5 separate regions of the Homo sapiens genome follow, and all the other regions are linked to region 2. The links are contacts of gene promoters, found by promoter capture Hi-C in blood cells and fetal thymus (Javierre and others, 2016). All regions are on one chromosome and are shown on one strand. The core of a region is centred on a gene start or on the middle of the fragment in contact, and the rest is flanking DNA. Distances in the headings are between cores, read along the strand shown. Region 1 overlaps MAPRE2 (microtubule associated protein RP/EB family member 2). Region 2 holds the start of ZNF24 (zinc finger protein 24). Region 3 has its middle 78 kb from the start of MAPRE2. Region 4 overlaps MAPRE2 (microtubule associated protein RP/EB family member 2). Region 5 overlaps GALNT1 (polypeptide N-acetylgalactosaminyltransferase 1).

The links. Contacts are between HindIII fragments. The CHiCAGO score rates a contact against its expected background, and 5 or more counts as called.
Region 1: a contact is called between a fragment that was not itself captured here and the fragment with the promoter of ZNF24 in region 2, in 1 of 17 cell types (total B cells). The highest score is 6.7, in total B cells.
Region 3: a contact is called between a fragment that was not itself captured here and the fragment with the promoter of ZNF24 in region 2, in 1 of 17 cell types (non-activated CD4 T cells). The highest score is 6.5, in non-activated CD4 T cells.
Region 4: a fragment that was not itself captured here is called in contact with the fragment with the promoter of ZNF24 in region 2 in 1 of 17 cell types (non-activated CD4 T cells); the score reaches 5.5 in non-activated CD4 T cells.
Region 5: a fragment that was not itself captured here is called in contact with the fragment with the promoter of ZNF24 in region 2 in 1 of 17 cell types (total B cells); the score reaches 5.6 in total B cells.

What each region holds. Positions count from the first base shown.
Region 1 is chr18:35,064,793-35,070,052 of GRCh38, forward strand. The region is part of intron 1 of MAPRE2 (microtubule associated protein RP/EB family member 2); the gene reads left to right. Among named protein-coding and RNA genes, the nearest start is that of MAPRE2, 26 kb to the left of the region's middle. The HindIII fragment of the contact is 761 bases long and covers 2,892-3,652 here.
Region 2 is chr18:35,342,741-35,348,115 of GRCh38, forward strand. It overlaps ZNF24 (zinc finger protein 24), which reads right to left and starts at 1,680. Exons shown (of 4, transcript NM_006965.4): 1 at 1,620-1,680. LOC124904283 (a long non-coding RNA gene) reads left to right here and starts at 1,314. Exons shown (of 2, transcript XR_007066337.1): 1 at 1,314-1,999; 2 at 3,688-5,375. RefSeq lists an enhancer at 998-1,057 and a silencer at 1,738-1,907. The HindIII fragment of the contact is 2,541 bases long and covers 1-2,014 here.
Region 3 is chr18:34,960,737-34,965,850 of GRCh38, forward strand. No RefSeq gene overlaps it. Among named protein-coding and RNA genes, the nearest start is that of MAPRE2, 78 kb to the right of the region's middle. The HindIII fragment of the contact is 815 bases long and covers 2,066-2,880 here.
Region 4 is chr18:35,085,051-35,090,226 of GRCh38, forward strand. The region is part of intron 2 of MAPRE2 (microtubule associated protein RP/EB family member 2); the gene reads left to right. Among named protein-coding and RNA genes, the nearest start is that of MAPRE2, 46 kb to the left of the region's middle. The HindIII fragment of the contact is 833 bases long and covers 2,385-3,217 here.
Region 5 is chr18:35,613,681-35,618,686 of GRCh38, forward strand. All of the region lies in intron 1 of GALNT1 (polypeptide N-acetylgalactosaminyltransferase 1), which reads left to right. Among named protein-coding and RNA genes, the nearest start is that of MIR3975, 24 kb to the left of the region's middle. The HindIII fragment of the contact is 5,434 bases long and covers 1-4,187 here.

The DNA of each region.
Region 1 (5,260 bases), core at 2,022-4,521, 280 kb before region 2:
ACCCAACACCACCGCCAAATACTGAATAAAGGATGAAACTGAGCAAAATCTACACATTGGCCCTCAGCTGGAGGCTTTCCTTTTTCTAAAGTCATGTGTATCAGTGGTCACTATCCACAGACAAGCTAGAATCGTGACTTTGCCTGCTAGAGGTCTGAAGGGATTTTTGTTTTTTCTGTGTGTTTTTCTCTCTTCTGTTTGCAAAACAAAACAAAAAACCAGCTGGGTGTGGTGGCTCACGCCTGTAATCCCAGCACTTTGGGAGGCCAAGGTGGGCAGATGGCCTGAGGTCAGGAGTTCCAGACCAGTCTGGCCAACATGGTGAAACCCTGTCTGTACTAAAAATACCAAAAAAATTAGCTGGGCGTGGTGGCATGTGCCTGCAATCCCAGCTATTTGGGAGGCTGAAGCAGGGGAATTGCTTGAACCAGGGAGGTAGACGTTGCAGTGAGCCAAGATCGCGCTGCTGCACTCCAGCCTGGGCGACAGAGTAGGACTCTGTCTCAAAAAAAAAAAAACAAAAAGTGTATTCCCACCTTCCAAGAAAGCTATTCTAATATTCATGTAAAAAGTGTGTAACTATATTGTGATTATTAGTTTATTTTCAAGTAGGGGCAATAAATGCAAATTTGTTTTAAAATAAAATTTAAATACAATATTAAAGTGTGGTGACCCAGGGACTGCAGTGCTAGGAAAGTGTTCCTCCCTTATCTCCTGCTTGTTGTGCTGTTGCACTGACCAGATCTTTATTTTTATTTATTTATCTTTTTTATTTTTTTTTGAGACGGAGTTTCACTGTCACCCAGGCTGGAGTGCAGTGGCCCAATCTCAACTCACTGCAACCTCTGCCTACCGGGTTCAAGCGATTCTCCTGCCTCAGCCTCCCTAGTAGCTGGGACTACAGGCGCATGCCACCAAACCTGGCTAATTTTTGTATTTTTAGTAGAGACAGGATTTCGCCATGTTGGCCAGGCTGGTCTCGAACTCCGGACCTCAGGTGATCCACCCGCCTCGGCCTCCCAAAGTGCTGGGATTACAGGCATGAGCCACCGCGCCTGGCCTGCACTGACCAGGTCTTAAACAACACAGTGATCTGGTTGAGATTCCAATTGAAAGCCACAAAGTGGGAGACAGCGCTTTGACTTTCTCCTTTGCAAGGATGGGACAGAGAGATGCTCATGTCCCAGAGGCCATGTGGCAAGTCACCTAAGAATAAACTGTTGTTTCCATGTAAAAGACATGCTGAAGATCCAAACATGAGAATAAACCCCGCACAGTGAGTTGCTCCTTGTTCTGTAATAGTTAGTATGACCTTACCTTTCATAACCATTTATCTTTCTTGACTGAGTCTTTGGGAAGTACTCCATGAATTAAAAATTAGCTTTTTGAATTGTATAATTCCTACCTTCCATAGGATGTTGATGTAATTGGTAATATCCCTAAGGACTAGCAGTCGTGAATTGAAGTTTGTGTCCACTTTTGTAAGGGAAGAGTATGATTCCTGCCCTGCTTTCCTCCCAGGATTCTTCCAAGGGTCAATAGAACCACTTTATCTCTAAAAAGATATAAAATTTCCTTGTGTTATCCACACAGCATTTCTGCAGACTAGGTAGGGACAAGTACTTTTACCTTTATATTGTCATATAGATTGAGACCCCAGAAATCATAATGAAATCTTAGGATTTTAGAATGTATCCACCTAGGGACTAGGACAATTTAATACTCTCTCACCTGAGTTTAACATTTGGAAAAAATATATAAATGTTCTGTGAATGTTGTAGCCACTTGTATCATTTAAGTTTAACTATATGGAAAGCATACCTGTAGAAAAAGCAGGAGCTGAAAGAATTGGGAAAACAAAAGGGTGGATGGCAGTGCAGGAATAGAATCCTTTTTCCACTTTGGCTGACACTTCACTTGCGGGAGGTTCAGGACAGTTCCCCTTCCAGGGAAAGTGAGTCCAGACTCAGAACTCTCAGGCCTAAAATCGGAAAAGCTGGCTTGTTTGGGTTCGGGGCAAACATTGGGAGCAAAGACAGCCACAGAGTGAAGTGCGCTTAGAAGTACCTTGCTGAAATTTGGAAAGAGGAAGATCGATTATAAGAATATTCCCATCAGCAGGGGTGTTAAATAGAAATTAACTATATTGATTTCATTGTTATTAATTTGAAGTAGGTATTGAAGTCTACTCATTTAATGTGTTGTTATTTTATTTTAGGAAATGGTGAAAAATTTCTTGCCTTCATTGGTTCACTTATTCTTAATCTGTCTTCTAAACTAGTTATCCCACAGGTCCCTTAACACATGGTAGCCCCTGCCACAGGGCTTGTGAGGACTACAGCTGTGTTGGCTAGCAATGGTGGAGATTTGAGTGGTATGCCTGGTAACTAAGTACCCAGAATTTTTCTAAAGCCCAGATCTGGTGCTGTTTTCATTGTTTACCTGATCATCTTAATGAACTGCTTGAAGGCAGATAGTGCCTTGACTTACCTTTGTGAGCTGAATGTCTGTTTACATTATGAAAGGACAATTGTTGTCCTTAAGTGAATGTTATCAGCAAAGACCTGGAGGAAAGTGTGATTTATTGACAAACTGCAGCAAATGACCTGCTTCCTTGTTTATATGGATTTTTAAAAAGCTGTCATTACTCTTCTACCTGTACTTCTGTTGTATATTAATTTCTCTTATGTAACCACAGAACGTTTTTACTCACTTGTGTATGGGTTATTTTTCTAAAACACAGATCTGTTTGTGTCTTTTCTGCTTTGCATTTAGATTTTTTTTAAATCATCTTGATTAAAAATTTCATCTCAATTTGGTTTGGTGCCATCTAGCATAACCCTGGGCCTCGACACCACATCCTCCATCAGTACATTGCCCGGTAATGCAGAAGCTTTCCATTACTGCCTGAAGAAGAAACCGCTAGAAAAGCCCATCAGCTGCCAAAAGTTATGCCAGTATATGATCATTTCATCAGTCCAAAATATTTTAAATTTTGAATTATTTACCCTTACTAAGATTATACATAATTTACATAGATGATTTTAAAAATTGACTACATTTAAAAAGCAAATGGTTTCGTTTAATAAATGATAGACTAAAGAAAACAGTGGAAGTTATTAACCAAAAAGTAAAAAACCTTCAATAATGGTGTACAAAGCAGTAATTATGGTCACACTATCTGAGATTCCTATGCTGTGAGATTTTTCAGATCCTTACGAGAAGACAATTTAGAGATAAGGGTGCTTCTGGGAATGGAGTGATAGATATTTATTTTTACATTTATTTCTAAATGAAACCTTCATTTAGCACTTTAAAGTAGAAAACAGATTTTTATTGCTTTCATGAGCATAAATAGGAACTCCAAACACAACTATTTCATAAAATGTAGATTTTTGTCTAAAACCTATATACTATAGATTTTGCTATTATATCTAGTCATGTTTAAAAATATTACTTCTATATCTGTAAATACCATTTTTCACTAAAAGGAATCAGGAGCGCTTGGAGAAATTACTGGTTTTAGGTCTGAGGCAAGAAATATACAAGTTGGCCTTGGAACATCTCGTCATATTGGAAAAGAAGAAGGTTATCAAAGACCACTAAGACTGTGTCAAAAGAACTTAGAGGCTAGCTTGAATAAGCTCTTGCAAGCTTTTATCAATAAAGGTATAATTTCAATGGATTGAAACATATCAAATATGTTTAAGTCCATGGATTCATAATTATACTTCAAAATATAAGAACAAAAACTTCATTGGTCATGTTTGGAGAATATTAGGGAACTACTCATCACTTTGAAAACTGGCAAATAGAGAAAAAGAGTTAGGCACCTCTCCTGCCTTTCCTCGATGACCTGTATCTCAGGGTACCTCAGGGGGAAACTTCTCTTTGTAGAATTATTCCAGCTAATAAATCAAGAATGAATAATAGAATATTTGAAGTTTTAGTGAATTATTGGATCTAGGCAAATATCAGAGCTAACAATATCATGGAAGCAGGCAGTCAGAGGTAATAGTTATCTGCCTTCTGATGGAAGTTCAAACACGGCGTGAAATAGTCTGTTTGATGCAATTGTCATATACTGGCATAACCTTTGGCAGCTGATGGGCTGTTCTATTGGTTTCTTCTTCAGGCAGTAATGGAAAGCTTTTGCATTACCAGGCAGTGTATTGATGGAGGATTAGGTGTCAAAGCCCAGAGTTGTGCTAGATGGCATCAAATCCCCGTCCCATTAGAACTTGAATAAGATCAAGGCTCTAGATGGAATTATCAGTCTGTAGGGATGCAGAGGACAGCGGAACATGTTAAACCACAGCAGTGTGATACAATGAGAAAAATCCAGAATGTGGAAACTATCAGACAACCTAGTTCCTTCAACAACAACTTTTTTTTTAATTGCAAGGAAAGATTAGAAATAGAGAAGAAACTTTATAAAGAAATTTAAAGAATGTATCAAAGAATCATAATGTATGAACCTTATATGAATCCAGATTCAAGCAATCTGAAGTTAAATTTGTATTATAATATATTGAAATGCATATTTGATATAAGTAATTATTTTCATTTTTAGGTGTGATAATATTCTGTTTTTTTTAAAAATTATTTTTCAGAGACACACTGAAACACTTATAGGTGAAATTATGTGATTATTGGCACTTACTCCAAAATAATCTGGCTTGGTAGGCTAGGATGGGATTGACACAAGGGGAGTTGATAGGAGTATAAATCAAACAAGATGGTCAAGTATTGATAATTCTTGAATCCAAGGGGTAAACCTAACTGGTTTGTTATTCTCTTCTCTCTCCTTTTGCATGTATTTGAAAGTTTCCAAAATAGAAGTTAATACATAGCTACAATATATACATAAACATACATATACAATATATCAATATATATATATTCCACAAACTAGGTAAAATTGCAAAGTTTCATCCAGGTTTAAATATTAAAAAAAGAATCCTTTATCACTGCACACCTACTAGAATGGCCAAACCCCAAAACACTAACGTTTCCAAGTCTTTGTAGTGAGTACTGAAATAATGTATGAAACTAACAGATTACTCTGGTGTATACTGCTACAAACCTGGTAACTTTTTAATATCACACGTAGACTTACAGTCAAAAGGGAGACTCTAAATTGTGTTATAAATTAGGAATCTCAGAACCTGAGGAACATTTGGATTTAGTTGGAGAGATATAAAATGGTACTGCATGAAAAATATGTGAAATTTAATAATTTTAATGCAAATATGTAAAA
Region 2 (5,375 bases), core at 430-2,929:
GTACATTCTATGACGTTCACACAAGGATGAAATAGCCTAACATATTTCTCAGACCATAGCACTATCGTTGAGTTATGCATGACCTTATTTACTATATGGCCGCTTACAGAAAAAGTTTGCCAATCATGACCTACTAAGACGACAAACCCTATGTCAATAATCAAAAGAATCCAAGTAAGAACCAGACTACTTCAGTGCTTTCTAAATGTGCCTGACCCTGGAACGCATTATTTCCAATTCAGGATTGGTGTTTCCTGACACACACAAGTCAACTCAAAAGGAAGGTTCGCTTTATTATTATGTGCTTAAAAAAATTTTCTTTACCATTTAAAAAATATTTTTAAGGTGTTTAAGAACTCCTTGGACTTATATGTGAAAAAATGTTCACTTGCTGAGTAGCAGATCACATAATATTGAAAAGATCATATGTGAAAAACATCACATAATTTTGAAAAATTATCTTGCACATAATACGTAAATATTCAGTCTTCCACCACACCATACGTACATTTATATTTATAATGATAGGCATTAATCACAGAAACTTCTATTAAGAAAAGGCACTCGCATAAGCACCTTGACTTCCTGCAGTGGTCCAGTGTCTTGTCCTTACACTGGAGGACTCACAGTTTCCCCAGCTTCTACCTTCAGTGAAACTGTATACTGCTTCTGGACCTTTATTATTTGCACGATCATGCCCGTGCTGTTGTTTACGACACATACTAGCAATGAGCCATTCAGCCTATTTATTTATTCAGGGCCCAAAATCTGAACAATAACAACTTAAAAAAACTTATTGTAACCCAAGCAAGATGAAGACTAGAATCAGAAAAGGCCTTATCAGACAAGTAATACATACTGGTTTAATTAAATACCCTGGAGTGTGGTGGCCTTATACATAAGGTCTAGCCAACATTCATTCGTTCCTATTCCAAGACCCTGCTTATCAACGGTGCAAGTATTTCTACATAATTTTCTCTTCCTTTTATGCTGTAGAGCATACCGCTTGTGGGAAATGGAGGGAAGGCCCACGGTCCCGACAATGTTTGGGCAGGGTACCTCGTCCCAGGTGGATCGCCCACCTTACTGCTGCATAGACCTGCTGTGTATCCCGGCCCCGGCCCCGGCCCCGGCCCGACGTCCTCTAGCCCCTCTTCCCAGCACTCAGGACCGCGGATTTCAGATGACCAAAGGCCACCCTGTGACAACAGCGTCGGAACCACGGCACTTCCGCCTGCGGCCGGTGAGACTACAAATCCCAGAAGCCCCGCGCAAGTCTCGTCCCACTACCACCCCCTCCCATCACGACTCCCAGAACCCTCCGCGAGACGCCAGGGCCTCGAAATAGAACAAAACCGGCCGGTGGGGGAGGGGGAAGGTGAGGGTCTCGGAGGACACAGGGGGTTAGAGAGCTCTCTGCAAATGCCGAAGACCCAAGCAGGCCTGCCGCCTACCCCTCCCCGCCCCACAACTGCTAGGCGCGGAGACCGCGGCCTGTTCCCCGCGCCTCCCGGGAAGCTGAGGAAGGTCCCGGACAGGCTTCCCCGCCGGCTCCTGCTAAGAGGTCCGCAGACCCTAGCCCGGTGTCCCCCCTCCCTCTCATAACGTTCCCCGCACACCGGCGCAAACCTCCGGCTCAGGAACCGCAGCAGCTTCGCTGTCCACGGCAGACGCAGAAACGCCGTTCACAAGCCTTTTCCCAGAAGCCCCCGGCGCGGGCTGCTTCCGGTCTGCGGGCCTGAGGAGGCGGGGAGAGGTAAAGCCCACGTTGCCATGGAGAAGCGCCCCGGGCGGGGGAGGGGCGGCCCCACGACAATGACCGCATTGAGGCTGCGCTTGGCCTCGCGCCTCTCCTCGAACAGCCCAGCGTCCTCTGGACCGTTTAAAAGAAAACATAAAGAGGACTCTACCATTAAGATAGTCCTTACAATTTCGCAAGCCCTTTCACGTGCATTATCTTGTGGATCCTCTCAGTAATCCCCTGCAAGAAGGAATGAAAGTGAGTGTTTGTGAAAGCTTACTACATTGTGCCAGGCGCTCTCGTCGTGCTTTACATGTCATTTTTTTTTCCACAAATAAATGATGTAGGAACTTTCATTATCCCCATTTCACAGCTGAGATAGTTGAGGCACAAATACAGTAAATAACCTGACAAGAGCTCACAACTCATTTGTGGGTAGCAAGATTTGAAACCAAGACGTGATTCAAATCTTTGGCTCCCACTAGTTATGTCATGGAGCTTTATTCCGACCTATTTATCTGTCAGGAAAACTAGATAAGACAGGTTAAGAGTTTTGGCAGTGATGTCACGGTGAATTTGTAGAATGCATGGTCATCTTAAAGCTGGGCATTTTATACCATAAAACAACTGCTGACGCGATCATTTAAAATTACAAATCAGACCACTTCACTCCCCTATTTAAAGCCCTCCAATTTATGTCATAATAATTTATGACATAAAAACTCCTTATAATGGCCTGTAAGTCCCCTGTGGTCTGTTGCCTGCCCGCACCCCCAGACCCTGGCGCCCCCAGTCACCTCAGCTCCTCGGCTCATTGTGGCCCAAGATCCTCAGCCTCACCACCTGCCTTTCATGGCGCATGACCCTTCATGGCACTGTTATTAATGGAAGTGATCTCATTTATTTACTTGTTTTATTTTTTGTTTTGTTTTGTCTTTAAGTCCCTTAAGGGCAGGGACCTTGTCTGTCTTGCTCACCACAGTATCCCATCCTAGATCCTGGAAGCTGACTGCCTGGTAAATAGAGAACTCAATAAATATTTGTTGAATAAATAAATGAATTGTGGGATGGTTACATTGCTGCCTTTAGCTAGGTCACATGATTGGCATCAGACACCACACAAAGGAGCCCTGTTGTTTAAGGACTGGTCAAAAGTGTAGATCCAGCCTAACATAAGCATTTCAAGATCCTCAGGCTTTGACTTTTTGCCTCATTGGAGAAAATGCCCTCTGAAAAGTGCCGTCAGGCTCCGCTGGATTCGTGCATGAGAGAGCAAGTGAGCGAGCAGCTGATGGTATACCACTGCTTTTCATTCCGACCAGAGCTCTTCTCACAACCCCTGCTAACACTTCTCTCCATTGCAGGAAGCTTCAGAAGTACAGCCTTTTCACTCTGCTACTTGGATACGGCCCCTAAGCAACTTGGCTGCTCTTCCCAACCTTTCCCTCTTATCTGATTTGTAAAGGCTAGCTGAAGGCATTTTTGTTTTAAGAGTTTTTACATCTAATTAATGTTGGAAAACAAAAATAATAAATCTGAAACCTAACCTTGAGGAAGTTAAAAATGTTGCAAAATTTTACAAAACCCTTTTCCTGTGATTATATTGTTTGTTTTGTTTTTGAGACAGGGTCTTGCTCTGTCACCCAGGCTGTAGGGCAATGGTGCAGTCTTGGCTCACTGCAGCTTCAACCTCCCAGACTCAGTGATCCTCCCGCCTCAGCCTCCTAACTGGGCATTTTATACCATAAAACAGCTGTTGATGCAATCATTTAAAATTACAAATCAAACCACTTCATTCTCCTATTTAAAGGCCTCCATTTTATGCTGTAATAATTTATCTTGAAATGCTTATGGAAGGCTGGACTTACACTTTTGATAAGTCCTTAAACAACAGGTGTGCTCCACCATGCCCAGCTAATTTGTTTGTTTGTTTGTTTGTTTTTCAGAGATGAGTTCTTCCTATGTTTCCCAGGCTGCTCTCCAACTCCTGGGCACAAGTGACCCTCCTGCCTTGGCCTCCTAAATTGCTAGGATTGCAGGCATGAGCCACCGTGCCTGGCCTCCATTCTATTATTATTAATTATTTGTAAACTACTAAATGGAAACCACAGTAAGGTTTTCCTCACTAAGTTACTCCTTTGAGGGCAGGGGCTACTAACACCCGCTTTGAAACACCATCCTTCTGAGGTCCTCTGGGATTTTTTCCTGAATGGTGGCCCTTGTTGCCATCTTAAAGATCTAGTCAAGATAAAACATGTTCCTCTGGACAACCTGAATGGAGGGAGCAGCTTCATACCCGGGCCTGACAACCTTGCACATATCCACATAGGCCACATAGGCAATGCCTGAACCACAGCTGATCTGAGTCTTGGCAGAACACCTTGGGATCTTCCCAGAAGATGAGTGCATGAGAGGCTTGTAAGCAGCTAGTGCAAGGCCATTTCCCACTCAGCTCTCTGTCTTCCAAAGAGACTATCATGAGGCAGTTTCTATTGCTTCCTGGGTTCCAACGAGCCATTCTGCCTTACCCTCTTAGAGTACAGCTGCAGGTTATAACAAGGCTTAGCTGCAGCATGGCATTAACCCCTCAGCAACAAGGTGTCCACAGTGTATGCTGTAGTCATCCAGCCCCTTCTGTTTTGGTGTCATCATTTTGGTATCTGAGACAAAAGCTCATGGAGAGCTGGCACTTGCTTTTGCTTTCAATGTCTGTGCAAATAATAATATGTCTAAATTCAAAAAGGGTTCATTTCTTTACCAGCCAAATCTTTCAACCTTGCCTTGATACCAAACATCTGATTCATTAATTAATGGTAAAACGAACAAAATGACCAGACAGATACTACCTGGGTACCAGAGATAATAGAGATGAATAAAATGAAGTCATGATTCCGTCTTTGTTTTTCCCTTTAAAAGAGATGAGATCTCACTCTGTTGCCCAGGCTGGAGTGCAGTGGCATAATCACAGCTTGCTGCAGCCTGGAACTCCTGGTAGGGATCCTCCCGCCTCAGCCTTCTAAAACGCTAGGAGTACAGTTGTGAGCCACCATGTCCAGTTTGATTCCTTCTTTTAACATTACCATCTTGTTAAGGAAATAAACAACAACAACAGAAAAAAACAAGTATTCACAAGGCAGTGTAGAAGTGCTACAGTAGAGAAAAGCAGAAGGCCTGTAAGGGCTCCTAAATGAGATAGTGTGCTAAGAGGGAAGGGAGGCACCCTGAAATGGAGGAAGCCAGCCAGAAAAGTTTTCAGGCTGGGCATAGTGGCCTGCACCTTTGGTCCCAGGTACTCAGGAGACTGAGGTGGGAGGATTTCTTGAACCTGAGGGGTTGAGGATGCAGTGAGCTCTGATCGCATCACTGTACTTAAGCCTTGTGGACAGAGTGAGATCCTGATCAAAAAAAAAAAAAAAGTGTTCACACTGGAAGGAAAGCATAGACCTTCAGATTTGGTGTTATCAGATTCCATCCAAGACTGATTTTTTTTCCAGGCTTTGGAGCTCTCAGTCCCCTTCAGCTCAAAAGTATCTCCCTCTGGGCACTTTAAGTACATTGCTTAAAGATTCCATTTTAGCTAGTAAGTATACAGTATGAGGAGTCTTTTGATTGCAAGTGACTGAAAACCTAATAG
Region 3 (5,114 bases), core at 1,223-3,722, 380 kb before region 2:
TTCCTGCCTAATCTAGTTTAAAACAAATAAGTGAAAGATGTGAATCATTAAGAACAAAGAAGAAAAAGTAAATCACTATTATTTATAATATGAAATTCCAATTCTGAGTTAATATTTAAAATGTTACTGTATATCTTTTTAAAGGTAAAACTTTTGAAATTTTCTCTTTCTCATGTGAGTGTGGTTAAAAGGATGAACAGAAAAATACACAGAAACATTTAAAAGAAAGATAGATCTGAAACAACAACATATTTTAATTATTAACTGATTTACTTCCTACCACCCTGTACTTCCTGGCATCCCCAGATCCTTTCCTTTTTTTAAGAAAACAAAACAAAACAAAACAAAAAACACTTCTTCCAAAAGAAAAAAAAAAGAAAGCAAAAAAACCCAGTAGTATTGTGGTTACCTATTGATGCACTCAAAAACCACCCCAAAATTCAATGTCCTAAAATAGCAACCATTTTATAACTTCTCACTATTCTGTGGGTTGACTGAGCTCAACTGGAGGGTTCTTCTGCTCCACATGATATTGGCTAGGGGTACACTCTTTCTGGACTCAATTGGATTAGAACATCCAAGGTGGCTATTTACATGTCTGGTGCTTTGGTGAGGATGACTGGCAGGCCAGGCTCAGTTGGGACACCAGTATATCAGGAGGTCTCTCTCTCACTCATATTGTATAGCCATCACAAAAAATATATTGAGCCCCTTCTCTATATCAGGCACTGCTCTAGGCATTAGCAATACAGTGGTAATCAAGAAAGAAAATCTCTTTGCTTTCATGAATTTAACTTTTAGCATGGGAAAAAAATAATAAATAAATAAATAATAATTTTTAATAGCTACAAGTACTCTGAAGAAAATTCAACAGGTAATGTGATGAAAAATGAGGGAGAGGCATTTAACAAGTGTTTGTTGAATGAATAAGCAAACATTTAGTTTCTCTCTCAGAGACATAGAACCATTATCAAACTAAATAAAAATGAGAAAATGATTGTGTTAACATTTTGCTTAAATTAACATATTAAATTTAGATCACGTGTTTCAAAGTGAATTCTGTGCTAACATAAATTCTATGTTAATCACGGAACAGAGGATATGATTTATTTTATTTGCCACTGATAAATTTTATCACAGATACTGATAGATTCTGTCACAGCACTAACATTACTCATAGCTCATAGAATTGCAGAAGTAATTTTTTGTACACTGTTACTGTTCATACAATTTTTATTATGATATAAAAGACTATCATAGACATAGTTAGCCAATTCTGGTCAAAGATACACATTCCAAACCATTTTAAAATTGAAATTAATCCAATAAATTATAATAGCATTGAAGATTTTAGTTCCTGAAATAGTTTATTGTTGAGTGTTTACGGTATAACATGAGTTATCACAAAATAAATAGGATCTTTTAAAAATTAGTGAATCACAATGGCCTCGGTTCTCCAGTGATATTTTAATGGCAGAATATGTACGTGAACAGAAAGACAGTCATGAATTGATGACCATAACCTTGAACCAGGGTTCAAAAACTTTAAAACTGTGTTCTATCTTTGCTAATGACACAGGTCATAACTTCACGCAATAAAACTTCATTCATCAGCCCTTTCTTTCCAGTCCATTGGAAGTCCTGTCTCTACACCAACTACTCTGTGACAGAAAGTCTCTTGAATACTAAAGGGATCATAATACCGTGCCTAACTCACAAAAATGTTACAGAATCTAGTTATATAATAGATTGAAAAGTGTTTTAACACCATATGCACATGTGCATAATATGATCTTACTATTTAATGCTCATGTATGTGAGAGCTTGAAGTGGCATGACTGAGGAAGTTGATTTTGAAGCCATTTGAAACAAAAAGTCATATAAAACAATATAGTAAACTGAAAAGAAAATAGATACTAAAAATTATGTACTGCTAGGCCATTTCAAGCAGTGATCTACAGTCTTTGAAAGGAAAACATTTGCTCTCATTTTAATAGCAATAATAAAGTGTTCTGTGTCAGCCTAGCTTATGTTAGCCTTAGCAGTACAGCAAAGCCAAGTTCTAAGCTTCTGATTTCTTCTTGGACCAATCCAGAAATGTGGGGTCATCCAGGTCGCTATATGGTGCCAGTAGTATATGCCATATCCTTCCAGGTGTCCTGGGCATTGGCATTCCATCTTTCTTAAAAAATACTTTGATCAAGTCTAAAACATTATTGTTTTTCATCAAGTCTAAAGCATCATTGAATATGACAATCAACGTATTATTATTATACATAATAGACGTATATAATTTCAGAGTATGTGATAATACATTCATATAATTTGTAAAGATCAAATCAGTGTAATTGGGATGTCCATCATCTTAAATATTTGTCTTTTCTCTATGCTAGAAACATTCAAATTATTCTTTCAACTATCTTCAAATATACAATAGATTATTGTAAAGTATAGTCACCCTACTCATCTATCAAACAGTAGGTCTTATTTAATCTATCAAACTGTACCCATCAATCAACTTCTTTTCATTTCCTCCTCTCCCCTACTCTTCCTGGCCTCTGGTAACCACCAATCTATTCTCTATCTTCATGAGATCTACTTTTTTTCTTCTATATATGAGTGAGAACATGTAATATTTATCTTTCTGTGCCTCGCAACATTACTTTTTAATGTATCCTATGAAAGAAAGTTCTATTAAATTATGACATGCCATGGATTGTATAATACATGCCAATTTCAAGGATTTTAAAAGGTAAAAAAAAGTTTGTCTTAGAATCAATGAATATAATAATTATTTTGTTAGCATAAAAGTAATGTATATTTGTTAAAAACCTGAAAAATACTGAGTATTAGCTGAAATATGGTTGCAGGTAACAGAAAAGCTTGATTATGTAAGAAAAATGTGTGTAACTGAAAATCCAGAGGAAGAACAGAGGGTAGAGTTGATTTAATTCAGGAACTAATGGCTATCACAACAGCAGTTTCTTTCCATCTCCCTGCTATGTCTCCCATTGTGTCAGCCTTCTTGAGACAAGCTTCTTTCGTGGTATCTGTTCCAGGTTTCCCATCTGCACCCCCTACACTACAATGGAGACAGAAATTCTATCCTAGCATTCTAAGTAAAAAATCTTTTTTTTTTTTTTTTTTTGAGATGAAGTCACACTCTTGTCCCTAGGCTGGAGTGCAATGGTGCAATCTTGGCTCACTGCAACCTCTGCCTCCCCGATTCAAGTGATTCTCCTGCCTCAGCCTCCTGAGTAGCTGGGATTACAGGAACCTGCCACCACTCCCGGCTAATTTTTGTATTTTTAGCAGAGATGGAGTTTCACCATGTTGGCCAGGCTGGTCTCAAACTCCTGACCTCAGGCGATTCACCCGCCTCGGCCTCCCAAAGTGTTGGGATTACAGGCGTGAGCCACTGCACCCGGCCTCTAAGTAAAAATTGTAATATTCATCTGCTAAGGTCATCTAAGTCATCTCAGTTCACCTGAATTGTAACCGTTTTTAGGAAAGTGAAAATGTACATGAAATGTATAGGGACCGAACAGGGAAAACTGAAAAATTTTCTTATTACTAAAAAAAAAGAATGTAAAAATGAATGCTTGAAAAGTGTGATGGTTAATTTTACTAGTCAACTTGGCTAGGCAGTGGTGCCCAGTTGTTTGGCGTCAGCACCACAGGCCAAACACACACACACACACACATACACACAACTACATATACAAAGAGAGAGACTGATTTATTTTTGACACACAAAAGCCAATAAAAATGTCTACTAAAACTTTGGGAGGCCAAGGCAGGTGGATCACCTGAGGTCAGGAGTTCGAGACCAGCCTGGCCAACATGGCAAAACCCTGTCTCTACAAAAATACAAAAATTATCTGGGCGTGATGGTGCGTGCCTGTAGTCCCAGCTACTCGGGAGGCTGAGGCAGGAGAATCGCTTGAACCCAGGAGGTGGGGGTTGCGGTAAGCCGAGATCGTGAGATTGTGACACTGCACTCCAGCCTGGGAGACACAGTAAGCTTCCGTAAAAAAAAAAAAAAAAAGGGAAAAGTATAAAAAGAAAAAAATAGAAATCCCCTATAATCAGGAATATCACCATTTTAAAATGTTTTATTCAACTTTATCTATTTACTTACTTTTACATGTATGAAAACATATGGGAACTTACTTTACTCAAATGACATCACACTGCATATATCAGATTCAAAACCTTGGAATCTTGTTTTTGTCCCGTAATATATTAAAGTGATCATTTTTCCATGCCCCTAAGTATCTTTAACGTAAATACCTAAATATATTTAACTGCTGATTTTTTTCAGCAGCTACCAAATAATCCATCACATAACTGAACTACAATCTGTTTAACTAGTTGACTGTTTCTGGGCTTTTTGATGATTTCTTTTTCTTTAACTACACAGTGCTCTCTCCTGATTTGAAAAAGCCAGTCAGACACTGTTTCTGGAATCTGAGGTTTCTAGAAGCCAGGATCAAAAGTGTCGCACTTGGTTCCACTTCATGCAAGCTAGAGCTCATTATGAATAAAAGAGCATGTTGCTAACTTGGCCTTTAGCCAGAGTCTGACCTGGCATCAAAACATATCACTGTTCTGGAGATAATCACAAAGATCTGCAACCATCATAAAGGTTTCTGTGGCAGTGACATGGACTCCTGATCCCTGTTCCTATGTTGTCATTGCTATTATAAACATGCATTTGTATTAAACTAACATAGTAATGTTTGTGACTTGTCTAAAATTTGTTTAATCTTGTAAGATTCTTGTAAGAAAGAAAATCAACAAAGAAAATAAAAGGAAAGGAGGAGTTATGAATATACCTGTTTGGTATCTCAGTAAGAACATATTTTGTATTCTATATTTACTCATACTCCCAGTTATGAGACAAAACTAAATGTGTGCTTGTGAGTGATGAACAGAATGGATGTTCTTGGAGAACAAAGGAAACACATGGTAGCATGTGAGTGTTCCTCCAAAGCACAGTTGATTTGGGAGTTTCAGGGCCCAACTCTCCCATCACTGCAGATATTGTTCTCTATCCATTATCCTCATTTACAGAAATCCTGATCCATATCCCCAGAGCCAACATACAGCTC
Region 4 (5,176 bases), core at 1,551-4,050, 260 kb before region 2:
ATTTTTGTTAGATTAGAATGATACAGTTGAACTTTGGGATTTTAAATTCCTTTAAAATGTTAATATTTCAAAGCATTATTTCACAATTGCCATTAAACTCCTTACAGCATGTATTTCTGTAGGTAGAGAGATTTCTGCTGATGTGCTGGAAATATGTAACCTTGTATTTTGCAGCCTCACTTTCCTCTTTAGTAAAGCCCTGATTTCCCAAAGGGGAATGCTTCCTTCAACACGAGGTTTGGGCTTAGGTAATAGTTGCAGTTCTGCAGGAACATCAGTTCAAGGAATGATGAGCTGAATGCCAAAATAAAGCTGGGATGACTTTATGATTATTGCGTATGAACAATCTAATATGAAGGAGATTTTTCATTGCTAATATTCAACTACTGGATAGAAAATATGGCTATGTTACTGAGTTTGTTAATGTCAAGATCTCAAAGAGAAGTACATGGAAGATAGGGTCACCAGAACTGAATCTGGAAAGGGTGTGTGTGCCCCCAGGAATATTCCACCAGAGGCAGCAGTGTTATTAGTAAGTCTCCTCTTATATTAACTATGACAAAAGCCAGTGATGGCTAGAAGCAAGAGCACTGGCAAACATCTTGGTCATATGAAGATGAGCATCATTGTCTCCTAATTAGCAGAAATATCAAGTATCCCTTAAAAGAGAACTTGGTGACAGACTGAGAATTAGAAAATCATCTAATTTTAGAGACCAGAGATCAGTCCAACACTGACGTTTTGCACATAAGAATACTGTTGGCTTAGCAGAGTGTGACGACATGTCACTGTTCATTCAAGATGAGAAGGCTCAGATCCAAAGGCCAACATAGTTTTCTGTTTCCTGCCTTCCCATTCTTTGTTGATACTAGCTTGAGATAATAAGCTTTTTTACAAATCATTTACCTGTAATGATTCACATCATGAAGAGTATGATCACATGGATGTGTCCAATTAATTGAGGTTGTTGTGCTTTTCTTCTAACCTTTCATCAGTACCAAATAAGATTATGGAAAGTGAAAAGTTGTAACTAAATCCCTCAGTGATATAGGCATCTCTGTATAATAGTTCCTTGGCCTGTGAGGAAATCAGATGGGCAATTTGAGTAGCTGTTTGTGGCAGAACCCAATCTGGCTTGATGTGTTTTTCCACAGATTGTGTTGCATTTCTGGAAAAGTGCTGTGAGACTTTTTTTGACACCAATAAGATATATATATACATGTATATATGAGATACATATATAGATATGTATCTCATATATATGGGCGATCAATAAGATTATATATAGAGATGATGTTTATTTTTATATACACATTGTATATATGTAAAATGAAATTCTTATGAGTGTATATATACTGAAATGGAAAGTCATGACATTGGAGCAGATTAATGATCTATCAAGCCCAAGATTCTACTATAAATAGAAAAGGTATAGCTGATACTTCTAACACCAGTCCAAACGATTTATATGTTCTCTTGCATTTTCCTTTATATTTCCTTTTAGAATTATCTATAAAAATCTATAAAAATTTCTAAAACTTAATCTATAAAAATTTCCAAACACTCTTTGAACCTTTCAATTTTTACATATAATTTCCTAAAAGCAGCATAGAAAAAAGGAATGTTTTTCTTAAAAAAAAAAAATTGAAGTTCAGATCAGAGTTTAAATTCCACTCTGCAATTTCTTAGCTGGGTGACTTTCTGAGCCTTGTTCCCATACCTGTAAAATATGGGAATGATAATAAAAATACTTACCTCTTAAGGATACTATGGGATTCAGAATGTTTAAAATACATATGAAAACGCTAACAGATTTTACCCAAATGTGGGTGTTTTTATGTCTTATGTTTCTTGCGTAATATATTCCATAAATTTGTTATTAGAGTAATATTTCCTTTTATCTGAAAATTTCCACTTTAAAAATGTCCATTTATTCTGATATTACTCTATGGTTGAAATCCTGGGATCTGGTGAAAATGAAATTGTCTTAGGCTTTTCATGATTTTATAGACTTAAATCATACACTCCTGAATCCTTTGAGTATGAATGTTCATTTTTGAGCTCTGCCATCTTCATACAGCCTCCCAGCTGTTCATTTTTTATTCCTGTCCTCACACTTGTCAGCTTCATTATGTCAATTTTGATGTATAACAACTGAAACCAATCTTAGGGCTGCAGGGGTACAGACAGTGTAGAAAGAATAGTTTTTTCCCCCCTACTTATTTCCAGATCATTTCAGAATCTTGTAGACCTTCACAATTGCAGCAGCACCTTGAGCTTATGGGCTCAGAGTATATCCCATCATAATTAACCTCTTAGTAGGCACAGCATCCTACAATTTGGGTTGTGTTACTTGAATGTGTTACCCTATGCTTAGCTTTTAAAGCTTATCTTTTACTTTTCTGCAGACTTGGTCTCTAGGGTCATTCTTATATTTGAGTGGCTTTAAAAAATTTTATTTATACCTCGTCAATTCTTAAAAGAATTTTTAGCAACTCTTCTCATAATATCTCTTTGGGGAGTTTGGCAACATAAGAATTTTACTGTTTACCAGCCCTTGTTGTGGTTCAACTGCTATGCAGATCTTCATTCATTAGCCAGATATTTATTGAAACCCACTTATGCCAGGTACTGTATTAAATGTTTAGATACATAGGGGACCAAGACAAATAAGGCACAAGTATTCTTGAAACTTATATTGCAGCGAGGGAAAAAATAAGCCACAAACTCTCTTAGTCTGTTTTATGCTGCTATAACAGAATACTTCAAACTGGGTAATTTATAATGAACAGTTATTTATTGTCTTCCTCTTCTGGAGGCTAAGAAGTCCAAGATCAGGGAACCAGCATCTGGCAAAGGTCTTCATGCTGCGTCATTCCATGGCAGAAATGCAAGAGACAATAGGGGAGAGAACAAGAGCCAAATTTGCCCTTTTATAACGAATTGCTTTCCCAAGAATGGCATTCATCCATTTCAGGAGGGCTGAACCCTCATGGACTGCTTACCTCTTAGTGGTCCTACCTCTTAATTACCATCACAATGGCAAATAAATTTCAACATGCATTTTGGAGGGGATATCCAAACCATAGCACCAACATAAGAGTTAATACAATGCCAACATAAGAGTTAATAAAACAGGATGAGGTGAAAAAGAGTGCTTAGAAGGCTACTTCATGTGGCATAGTAAGGGAGGACCTCTCTGAGGAGATGACATATAAGCTTTCATCTGAATGTCAAGAAGGTCACCATGTGAAGTTCTAGATGAAACTGTGTAAAGGTCCTAATTCAGGAGCAAATCTGAAGTGTTCTAGGAACAGCAAGGAAGCCAGCATGAAGGGAGCTTCCTAAAAGGAAGTTAGACAAGGGAGAAATAGACAGAGGCCTGATAACAGGGTATTTTAAGCCAGGGAAGGAATTTGGATTTTATGATAGTTTCATAGAAAACCACTGTGATATTCTTAGCAGGAGAGGGATGTGATCTGAATAAGGGTAACCGTGGCATAATGAGATAAAATTGTGTTTATTCAAAATGTACCTCACATTATTGCAAGGGTAGTTAAATGGCACAAAAGTCTGTGTATCTGTTGATGAGGAACATTCTGATTTGTGGCTGGGTAAGACTTCCAGGACACTGGCAATGATTCCTGAATATTTCAGTTTGTTGACATCTATTTTTATCTGATTAAAGAAGAAAATATAGAATTTCAAGAGCAAAAGAGGTGGTCAATAAGGCCAAATACTATTAAGAGGTTGAGTAGGATGCAGAAAGAAAAACAACTGTTTGATTTGATAGCAGAGAAGCTTTTGATGACCTTGACCAGAACATGGTGAGGTTGGAAGACAATTGAATTTGTATTAAATTGAATTGGATGTCAGATGAAACAATGAAAACAGAGACCATTTGAAGTTTTACTGTGAAGAGGAGGAGATAGTACATAGCTCAAGGATGATGTGGGATCAAGAAACTTTGGTTTTATTTTGTCAAAGTTGAATGATACTGGAGCATATTTGCAGGATTTAGGAATAACATATGCAGGAAGAATTTTGCATTGCAGGAGAGAATGAGGATAGCAGCAGGAATGACTCAGTGAGTAAGAGGAGACGTGACCCAGAGCACAAGTAGAGAGTTGAACTTTGATAGGAACTATGCAGTTTCTCAAAGAACGTGAGGTATAAATCGTCATGACCTTGGATTATGCAGTGGTTTTTGGTTATAACAACAAAAGCACAAGTGACAAAAGAATGAATAGCTAAATTGGATTTTATTGAAATATAAAACATTTTTGCTTCAAATGATACCATCAAGAAAGTGAAAAAACAGTCCACAGAATGGGAGAAAATATTTACAAATCATATATCTGATAAGGAAATTATATCTAGAATATAGAAAGGATTCTTACAATTCAACAATAAAAAAGCAACCCATTTAAGAAACAAGCAAAGAATGTGCATAGACATTCCTCCAAAGAAGACATACAAATGGCCTAAAAAGCACAAGGAAAAGATGCTCTAAGTCATTAGTCATAGGGAAATCAAAGCAAAACCACAGTGACATACCACTTCACATCCATTAGGATGGTTAGAATCAAAACGACAGACAAGTGGTGATGAAGATGTGGAGCCCTCATCTGTTGCTGGTAGAAATATAAAATAGTACACCTGCTTTGGAAAACAGTGTGATAGTTTTTCAAATTGTTAAACAGAGTTACCACATGACCCAGCAATTCCAATCCTAGGTATACTGCCAAGAGAATTGAAAACATGTCCATGAAAAAACTTGTACACAACTGTTTGTAGCATCATTACTCAAAATAGTCCAAACATAAAAGCAATCTAGATGTTCATTAATGAATGGATCAGTAAAATGTGGTAATTCATAAAATGGAATATTATTTGCTGTAAAGAAAAAAAATGAAGTTCTGATACATGGAACAACATGGATAAACCTTGAGAAGAGTTTGCTGAGTGAAAGAAACCAGACACAAAGGCCACATGTTATATGATTCTATTTATATGAATTGTCCAGAATAGTCAGATCCATAGAGACAGAAAATAGATTAGTGGTTGCCAGGGCCTGGAGGGAGGAGAGATCATAGAGAGCGACTGCTAATGAGTAAGAAGGGTTTTTTTTTGGCAGTAATAAATATATGCTGGAATTAAATAGTGGCAATGGATG
Region 5 (5,006 bases), core at 221-2,720, 270 kb after region 2:
AGTGGGTTTAACTAGGAAAAAGCAAAAAACCTATCCCTCAGTGGTTGGAAAAGTATAGGGTAGGGAGCATAGGAACAAGGTTGCCTGTTTCAGCTTTTCACTGGAAGGGTAAAATAACCTTCCCCGAAAAATTATAACTGCAGTTCCACTCTAACTGGATTTGGGGTTGAAGTTCATACTACCTTAATGGTGGGGGAAAAAAAAACAACCAAGCCAAGAATTTAGTGAAAAGTAGTCTCAGTCTCAGGACTGAGAATCAAATGAAATCCTCACTGGAGAAATACAGGAACACAGGCCTCAGAGAATTGACACAGGTAAAGTTTCTTCCTAGAAATGCATTCACAATTTAAAAAACCAAAAACACTTTATATAAACCATGAGTTAATCAGCAGAGCAAGGAGACCGTGTAATCAGGCATTCAAACATTGCAGATATTGTAGTTGTCAGATATGTAATATAAGATAAATGCTTAATATGTTTAGAGAGTATAAAATACGGCTAAAGAGCAAAAGACTATCAAAAATAATTAGGCAAGTTGAATTCAGCAGTGTATAAAGGAAATACTGGATATTGAACAAAGGGTTTATTCCAGGAAGGCGAGCTTGGTTCTGCATTAGAAGGACTATTAATGTAATTATCGACACAAGCAGTTTAAAGTTAAAAAAACCATATCATCCTAAAATATACAGAAAAAGAATTTATTAAAATTCATCTCTCTTTTATGGTAAAAACTCATAACAAACTAAGAACAGAAGGGAAATTCTGTAACCTGACAAAGGGCATCTGTGAAAAACCTACAGCAAACATAGTATTTGATAGAGAAACATTAATGGTATTCCTTTGAAAAACAGCAGCGATATAAAGATGCCCACTGTTACCCTGCCTCTTCACAATTGCACTGGAGATATGAGTTAGTGCAGTAAAGCAACAAAGAGCTACAGGGCTATGAGGAATGAACAGAATGGTCATTCCTTAGAGTGAATATAAGTACCTTCATAGAAAATTCAGGAGTTTATTAAGTTGCGAATATATGATTGATATAGTAAAATTTAAGGACTAACATCCAGAATCTGCAAGGAATGCCAATTAATCAACAAGAAGATCATTATGGTAAAGTCAGTTCTATTACTCTAAACTAGCAGCATACAATAATAAATGTAATAAAAATATTTCTCAATAGTAAAAAAAATAAAAAGCCACCTAGGAATAAATAGAAAAAGAGAGGGCAAGATCTTTAAATAGAAAGGTATAGAAATATATCGAAGGACATTAAGAAGACCTAAATAAATGTGACGACATACCATGTTCATAGAAAGAAGGTTTCCTATAAACGTATCAATTAATCTGTCTTTAATATATGAATTTATTGCTATTAAAAAAAACACCCAGCAGGGTATGGTTTTGTTTGTTTTTGTGGAATTTGACCAGTTAATTCTAAAATTTATTTGGAAATACAAAGGGTCAAGAATGGCTAAGACATTCCTGAAGCAAGTACTTGTCTTACAAGATTTTAAGATAGTGTAAAACTTTAATCATTGAGATGGCATAATATTTGGACAAGCATAGACAAATAGATAATGGAAGGAAGTTAAGGCAAAAACCAGAACTCTAAGTACGTGGAAAGCTAATACATGACAGAGCTAATGTTACAAATCAAGGAAATGGAATACGTTTTAAATGGTTGGGATTCTTAGCCACATTTTAAAAAATGGTTTTTACTAACACTGTATTAAAAAAAGCAATTTCAGATGGATTAAAGACTAGATTGTGAAAGGCAAAACTTAAGCCTCCAGAATAAAATATTAGAGAGTATTTTAGACCTCAGGCTTTGGAAGCCAAAAGCACAATTGTTGAAGGAAAAGGTTTATTAATTTGGCTGTACTAAAATTAAGATCTCTTGGGTTTTGTGTGCATGGAAAGGAGAGTGTAAAGACTAGTCACAAATACACAAGTAGAATATATTTTGCATACAAAGGATAAGGATTTTTAGAATCAGTAATGCACACACCCATATGTCAGTACGCATACATACGTAAGTGTGAAAACAGTTAATGGCAGAAGAAAGCAAGAGCTGTTTCTTAGGAGAAAAATGAATAGCCAGTAAACAGTTGTTTTCAGGGAAATACAAATTAAAGCTACATTGACAAAATTGTAAAAGTTGGACATTGTCAAGTATACCACTGCACTACTCCATGGCAGAGGTTGGCAGACTTTTCTGTAAAGGGCCAGATAGTAAGTATTTTAGCCTTTGCAGGCCGTACAGTCTCTGTAAAGGCCAACAACTTTGACGTTGTAGTGCAAAAGCAGCTGTAAACCATATATAAATGAATGAGAGTGGCTGCATTCCCATAAAATTTTATTTACAAAAATACTAGTTTGCCACCCCTTGCTCTATGACACCAAAGTTAGTGAACTACATCAATATGGATGAGTCTTAAAAACGTAATGTTGGATTTAAAAGGTAGCAGAAGAATACATTATAATATGATTTAATTTATGTAAATTGCAGAGGTAGACAAGGTAAAGGATACAGGTTTGTGGGTTTCATCATAGTTGCTGGGACCTGACTAATTTTGAATTCTGGCCTTGACATGTATAGTCTATGTGACGCTGGCCAAATTACCTAACTTTTTAAAGTGTCAGTTTTCCTATCTGTAAGATGGTGTGCATAATAGTACCTGGCTTACTGGGTTGTTGGGAGTATTGTTATACAGTGCCCATCAAAGTGCTCAGCACACAGTAAGTGCTTGGTAATTGTTGTTATGCTTTTATTCTCCTGTTTAATTTATATCTCTATTAAAAGAAATATAGCTGTTATTGCTTTGGACACTGGGTGTTTTTTTTATCTGACCTGCATTGCATATGGCTAATGAGAAGTACTAAGGCTTGCATATCCTCACCTGAAGTCTTGAGTAATGTTTGATTCCTTTTGCTTAGCACAGGTTGTAAAACCTTCTAGTGTTTTAGTGTTGTGTTTTAATCTCCACATTCATGGTAGCTTGCTGAATACTTGGCAGAAACAGCTTCCAGTGTCACGTAATCTTTCTCTGTGGCAGTTAGCATCGTCTCAGACTCCTTTTTCAGAGCTCTCTCCTCCTTTGTATTGGCACCACTCTTCAAATTCTGTGACTTCTCAGACCTTCCAGTCCTCTAGTATGGTCCACCCCTCAAACTTCTGACTCTTCAGCTTCCTCAGCTGAAAATGAAGATAAAACCCACTTGAAAGGGTTGTTATTAGGATAAAATTCTCTCTCTAATGCCTAAGCCACTGAGGAACCCTGTAACCATAGATCCTGACTCATTTATGCCAGAGTGAGGTGTGGTATGAAAACAAACAAAACTTTATGAGTAGTTCCTTCCCCATTTGAGCAGCAGTGACGGGTGAATGTAATGCAAGCGGCGCATTGCAGGCATTCAGACAGCTCCCCCCTCCATTTCCTGTCTGTGGCTACTGTTCTCTAGACTCTTCTCTCACACCACCAAGAATCATTTATTACAGGTATTTATATTGACCATTTCCTCCCTAAGGACAGTGATGTTGTCTAACTCATCTTTGTTCTCATATGGTCTGGTAAAATGCTTGGCATATAGTAGGGCAGTTAACAAATTTGTTAAGTGAACAAATGTCTACTATATGCCTTGCTTTTGTTCACAGAACACCAGTGTATGCAGTATTTGGCCTGCCAAAGTAAGATGTTAAATCCAAAGTAAGATGTTAAATCCTAATTTAGCGTTTAGCTATCTGAAACACGTTTAAAAGTTACTTCTTTGTTTTAACATCATATTTCGAGAAATTCTAACATATATAAAAGTAGACAGAACAGTGAAACGAGCCCTCTTAAACCTGTATCCATTCTCCAGATTCAGCAAACACATTTTCCCACTTGTGTTCCACCTCTCAATCTAACCTCACTCCCCTGCTCTTAAGCCCAAGTATTTTAAAGCAATGGAAGACATCATGTCATTTTACCTCTAACATTCTTCAGTATAGATCCTTTAAAATGAGAACATTTTGAATATGACCACAATGCTGTTAACATTCCTAATTAACAGTGATTGCTTAGTAGCATCTGTAACCCAGTTCATAATCATATTTCCTCAGTGGTCCCTAAAGTGTCTTTTTAAGTTGATTTGTAGATTCAAAACTCAAAACAAGATCAACATAGCACATTTAGTTTTTTTAAAAAAGCTTTCCTTAAAAAAATAAAAACAATACCTATTTTAAAAATTATTTCTCTCCCTTTCTCTTCTTCTTTTCTTTTCGATAACTCTTCAGATTAGGGTTCTTTATAATGAAACCATAAACTTTGCTCTAGCAGATAAAGGTTTCATCTTTTAAGACTGCTTTGCTGTTCTTTTTTTTTTTTTTTGATAGCCAAGCACTTAACATGTATAGAGAGCACTACTGCAGTTAACAGCACAGCAAAATGCAAAACTGTTAACTGCTCTGATTTTTCTTGTGCAATGAGATAGCATTATGTGCAGTACCATTAGGAAAATAATTTTACATCATTTTCATTCATAATTAACATTATTTACATTAAATGTAGTCTAAACCTGTAAAATAATCTTGTATTCATTAAAAAGTATATATTCTTTGGTATGTTTAGTTTAAATACATCTTTAAAAAATTTTAGTTATTCCTCTTGAATTTATGGTTAGGGTCTCAAGAAGGAAGCTTGAGACTAGACTGTAATGTGTGTTTGAAAAAGACTGCTCATGGATGAACTTAATTCTTAAATTCTCTAAAGCTCAAGTGGAGAAATGACATCTGCAAAAAATTTATCTTTTAGTTGCATTATGGGTAATAAAGACAAACATGTGTAACTGTTTAGTGTATTTAAAAGAAAAGGAGAGATAACCCAAGTGATTAGAGGTTTTAGTAGAATAGTTTTGAGAATTAGAATTTTAAAAAATAATACAAAAGAAATGTTTGAGTTATTGATGTGAATTAAATAGCAGGTTTATTTCAGAGTTTTTTTTTTCCAACAATTTACTTAACTTTC